2 separate regions of the Homo sapiens genome follow, and region 2 is linked to region 1. Evidence: promoter capture Hi-C in 16 types of primary human blood cells and fetal thymus (Javierre and others, 2016). All regions are on one chromosome and are shown on one strand. The core of a region is centred on a gene start or on the middle of the fragment in contact, and the rest is flanking DNA. Distances in the headings are between cores, read along the strand shown.

Region 1 (2,700 bases), core at 106-2,605:
TTTCCCTCTGGGGGGGTCCCCTCTAGGAAAATCCTTCAATAATCAAGTTTTTGTTGACTACCACCCAGGGATTAGTGGGGCCCACAAAACCACGTGTCAACAAGACACATCTACACCACACATCAACAACGAGTGTACCGCGCGTGTCTACACCACCCATCTATCCCATGCATCTACACGGCACATCCATATGCGTCTGTACCTCGTGTCTACACCACATGTCTGTACCACGTGTCTAGACTGCCCATCTACAACATGTGTCTACACCACCATCGGATTAATGCCTGCTGGTGGGTCAGCAGGGCAGGCAGGACACACAGAGGGGGCCACCAGCAGGAGCTGAGGGGCTCCAGGAAGGGAGTGACCCCGGGAGGCGTCCTCTGGGAGAACTCTGGGGGGCCAAGCTGGGCTGGAGCATGATTGTGGATATGACAGGAGAGGTAGAATAAACCTCACATTCTCCAAGGCCACCTCCAACCTCCTTAGGAAAAAAGTGAAGCTGGTTCCCAGGTTGGATCCCCTCCCACTTTCTCCCCAAGCGGAAGACAAAGCGGGGGTCTGAGTGCCGGGCGTGCACTGTTGTGGGTGCCCTTGGCCTGGCCCGGTGCCTCCTTCCTGGTCATGCTCAGGCCTTGACCTTTAATGGCCTGGTCACCTCTGAGCATTGCTCTGTGGTTGTGGCCTGACTGTGTGGCAGCTCATAGACACAGAGAGGTGTCACAGGCTGCAATCCAGGCTACCCATGTGAAACCAGCAGGCCATATCTTCAGGGCTGTTGGGTTCCCAACTCTATGGCTGCTGGACTTTGTTGTGTGCTGGCACTTCAGAGTCTGCAGAGAGGAATGAGGGGTGCTGGCCTCAAGCCAGAGCAGAGATGTATTCCTGGACAAAGGGCCAGCAGCCCAGAGGGCTTTGAATAGGGTCTACCCAGTGGGACAGACAGCCAGGACTAATGGGATGGAGGGAGGAGAAATCCCTGAGAGCTTCCTGGGGGAATCACTATTCAAAAGCACATTCTAAGTGCCTGCTGGGACAGAACTGCTTACAACACCCCTCCGACCTGGTGCTTGGTTTTCCCCCTTAGCAAAGGGAAGTGTTGTCACCCCAGAAGTTGCAGCTCAGGGGCCAGAGAAGCTGGTTTTCTAGGGTGCACGCAGGCTGGGCTGCTTCTCTCCACTCTAAAGCTAAGTCTCTGCCTCAGCCCACAGGCTTGTCCAGCACCGCCCTAGGATGCACTTGTCTCTCTCTCTCTCTCTCACCTCACCCTGTGGGGGATGGGGGACTCAGAGCCCCACCCCCAGGGCCTCTGAGGCTCAGGACAATCGTTGCCTTGGCTAGATTGTTACCTAGGAGACAACCCCCTGGCCCCCTGGAAGAGGCCTCAGCAGGCCCAGGCCACCTGGAGGGAGAGCAGACCTGCGGCTGAGGATGCAGGGCTCCCGGGCACGGTGCTAGCCCTGCCTTGAGACACCCCGAGAGCTGTGGGAAGAGCTGTGGGATCCCCTATTGCATCACAAAGCGGCCCTGGAGGGCTGGTCTTTATTTTGATGAGGCTGAGAAGGGAAGGCTGCGGGCATGTTTAATCCGCACGCTTTAGACTCCCCGGCTGTGATTTTTGACAATGGCTCGGGGTTCTGCAAAGCGGGCCTGTCTGGGGAGTTTGGACCCCGGCACATGGTCAGCTCCATCGTGGGGCACCTGAAATTCCAGGCTCCCTCAGCAGAGGCCAACCAGAAGAAGTACTTTGTGGGGGAGGAGGCCCTGTACAAGCAGGAGGCCCTGCAGCTGCACTCCCCTTTCGAGCGTGGCCTGATCACAGGGTGGGATGACGTGGAGAGACTCTGGAAGCACCTCTTTGAGTGGGAGCTAGGCGTGAAACCCAGCGACCAGCCCCTGCTTGCAACGGAGCCCTCCCTGAACCCCAGGGAGAACCGTGAGAAGATGGCAGAAGTCATGTTCGAGAACTTCGGCGTGCCCGCTTTCTACCTGTCGGACCAGGCGGTGCTGGCTCTCTACGCCTCTGCCTGTGTCACGGGCCTGGTGGTGGACAGCGGGGATGCGGTCACCTGCACTGTCCCCATCTTTGAGGGTTACTCCCTGCCCCACGCAGTCACCAAGCTCCACGTGGCGGGCAGGGACATCACGGAGCTCCTCATGCAGCTGCTCCTGGCCAGCGGCCACACCTTCCCCTGCCAGCTGGACAAGGGTCTCGTGGACGACATCAAAAAGAAGCTGTGCTACGTGGCCTTGGAGCCCGAGAAGGAGCTTTCCCGGAGGCCGGAGGAGGTCCTGAGGGAGTACAAGCTGCCCGACGGGAACATCATCAGCCTCGGGGACCCGCTGCACCAGGCGCCCGAGGCCCTGTTCGTGCCCCAGCAGCTGGGCAGCCAGAGCCCCGGGCTCTCGAATATGGTCTCCAGCAGCATCACCAAGTGTGATACCGACATCCAGAAGATCCTCTTTGGGGAGATTGTGCTGTCGGGGGGCACTACCCTGTTCCACGGGCTGGATGACCGGCTTCTCAAGGAGCTGGAGCAGCTGGCCTCCAAGGACACCCCCATCAAGATCACGGCTCCCCCCGACCGGTGGTTCTCCACCTGGATTGGAGCCTCCATCGTCACCTCTCTGAGTAGCTTCAAGCAGATGTGGGTCACCGCCGCAGACTTCAAGGAGTTTGGGACCTCCGTGGTGCAGAGAAGA
Region 2 (2,700 bases), core at 121-2,620, 260 kb after region 1:
GTGTGCACATGAATGTGCGCATGACCTGGTGTGTGTGCACGTGTGTGTGCATGCTTGCAGCCCAGTGGCTGTCTCAGGGGACATGTCTTCAAGTGTGTGGCTCCCTGTCTCACCTGGGGCAGGTATATCTGGGAGGGTGCAGAGTTCTCTGTTTGCACACAGAGGAAGTGGTTTTCTGCCTGAGTCCCCCCACCCTTACTGCCAGCGTCCAACCTCACACCAGAGAAAAGCCAGAGTTTCATGTGCGGAGGGACGGCGTACATTCCAACAAGGTCCGTCCTTCCCACCTCAGGCCTTCCATCGCCTCCCTCGACTCCCACCTGGAGCCTGGAGGCAGCTGGAAGAACCCACCTCTCACCCCAGCAAGGTCTGTGGCGTTAAGGTCACACTGGCACCAACTAAGAACTAAGACCTTCTCTGAGGCATGAAGGCTGTTGCTTAGCTTTGAAAACAGTAAATGTGAATGAAAGGGAACCTTGAGAAAGACCCGTTCCTAGGTGAAGTGAGAAGCAGGCTAGACTGGCCGTCCCGGGCCATACCCACCCTGTCTCCAAGGGGTCTCTGCCCAGGAGAAATCAAAGTGGGGTTCTCACAGCCCCTGGGGCAGGGGCAGGGAAATTTGGTCAGAAACAATGCGGAGCCCCCAGGGCTTTTGTCAAATCTCCATCCATGGGTTTTGTTTTCTCCCCAGTTCTGAATCTGGGAGGCCGAGTGGCTGCCCAGCGAGGTTGGCTCTGGGCTGAGGACAGCACTGCCTGGGCCTCCTTCCCTGGGTGGTTGTTCAACACCGGGCAAGTCCCTGCACCTGTCCAGCCTCAGCCCACTGTCTCAAAAGTGGGGCCATTGGCATTCTGGACTGTCAAGAAGCTTGAGAAACTGGGCCCTAGGAGGATGCTGCAAGATGCCCAGATGTCCTCTTCAACTCGAAACGTTGCCATCTGCCTTGCTGGCTCACACCCAGCCCCTACCTGAGAACGCAGCTGTGGGCACTGTCGCCCAGGAGGAGGCCTGGCTGCTGAGACGCTCCCTTCCTACAGCTGCCGGTGGCCAGAACCCTCCACCTGTGCTCCAGACCAGGCTGGCACTGAGACGCCCACCCCAGCCATGGTCATTTAGAAATAAGTAGGTGTCCACTATATGAAATCGAAATAGGGATCATTCCTGTGCCTGCCAATAAAACACCAATCTCCTTGAGAGAAGCAGCCTTGAAACTTATCAGTCATTCACAACTTAGCATGATCAGATTGATGAGCTATGATCAGATTGATTGATTAGCTATGATCGGTTTGATGTGCTCTGATTGGGTTCACTGATGAGCTATGGTTAGATTCATTGATGAGTTATGACCAGATTGATTGATGAGCTATGATCAGACTGATGTTCTGTGATCAGGTTCATTGATGAGCTATGGTTGGATTCATTGACGAGCTATGACCAGATTGATTGACTAGCTATGATCGGTTTGATGTGCTCTGATTGGGTTCATTGATGAGCTATGGTTGGATTCACAGATTAGCTATGGCCGGATTGATTGATGAGCTATGGTCCGATCGATGAGTTGCTTTCAGGAAACCAGGGATAAGGAGCAGGCAGACGCCATCCCTGTACCAGGGGGTGCAGGGTGCTCAGGGAGACTGGAGCCCCAGTCTGCCTGGAGCTGGCATGAGGCCAAGGTGGGCGCCCGCAGCCCTGGATGTGGAGGGGTGTTCTAGAAGGAGTGCTGGCCTGCAGGAAAGGCCTTGGGCTGCAGTCAGGTCAGCCATGAACCCTTCAGTCAAACATGTGACCTGAACTGAGAACCCCAGGTCCAGCCTCTAGGTATGGGACGCCAGCTCTCTCCTTACCACCGAAGCAGCTTTGGGCTTGCACATGAAAAGCTTCCGAACCTTGACTCCCTTCACAGGCCTGAGCAGTGAGTTCCCAGAATGTTCTAGAAGAGGCATGTGCTCAGGGAGGCCATGCTTCAGTGTGCAGACGTTTCCCCAGAGAGGTCAGCAGGTGCCGGGCACCAGCCCTTCCCCAGACACAGGCTGGCCCTGCCAGCTGGCTTAGCAGGGCGCTGCCTGTGTGTGGAGTGGGGGCTCTGGGCTCCTTGCTTGGCCCCCACAGGTCCTCGACCCAGAGACCTTGTCCCCCCACTGTCGGGCTTAGGACAGGCCAGGGTCACCCTCAGCAGAACCTGGGGCCAGCGCCGCAGGGCCCCCTGGTTTGGAAAGCCTGTTCCTCAGCTCTGTCCCAGCGGGCACTTAGCTGAGGATACCCCTGATGCTGCTCCATGCACACCTCTCACCACGATTCAATCCACCTGAGGATGGTCACCTTCTCAGGGAAATGGGGAAAGACTTATTGCCAAGGTCACTGAAGCCTTCCTGGTCTTGGTGTCTGGAAAAAACTCGCCAAGAGAGCAGGCATCTCCCGAGACCCAGGAATCAGCATGGCCACCAGAGCTGGTCACTGCCACTCCGAAGCTCCTCAGGCAGCTTCCTTTCTCCCTAGGGAGGAGACACTGTTGTCCGTCTGAAGCCTGGCGAACGTGGGACACAGGAGGCAGCCGTGGCCGGAGGGGCACGAGGGTGGTGGGCAGCCAGCGCTAGCCCAAGCTCCCGGGGTCACTCCAAGGAGTAGTGAGGGCTCCCCTGCAGGTGCAGTGAGAGGCGTGGTAGTATTAGGGCGGTTAGAGGAGGGGCGTCTCCCTTCCCT

The links. Contacts are between HindIII fragments. The CHiCAGO score rates a contact against its expected background, and 5 or more counts as called.
Region 2: a contact is called between a fragment that was not itself captured here and the fragment with the promoter of ACTRT2 in region 1, in 4 of 17 cell types (megakaryocytes, fetal thymus, M0 macrophages and 1 more). The highest score is 11.3, in megakaryocytes.

The regions. Positions count from the first base shown.
Region 1 is chr1:3,020,112-3,022,811 of GRCh38, forward strand. It overlaps ACTRT2 (actin related protein T2), which reads left to right and starts at 1,356. Exons shown (of 1, transcript NM_080431.5): 1 at 1,356-2,700. The coding sequence starts at 1,576. The HindIII fragment of the contact is 17,158 bases long and covers 1-2,700 here.
Region 2 is chr1:3,280,259-3,282,958 of GRCh38, forward strand. All of the region lies in intron 3 of PRDM16 (PR/SET domain 16), which reads left to right. LOC124903828 (collagen alpha-5(IV) chain-like) reads left to right here. Exons shown (of 2, transcript XM_047436627.1): 1 at 1-2,700. Among named protein-coding and RNA genes, the nearest start is that of MIR4251, 150 kb to the left of the region's middle. The HindIII fragment of the contact is 1,010 bases long and covers 866-1,875 here.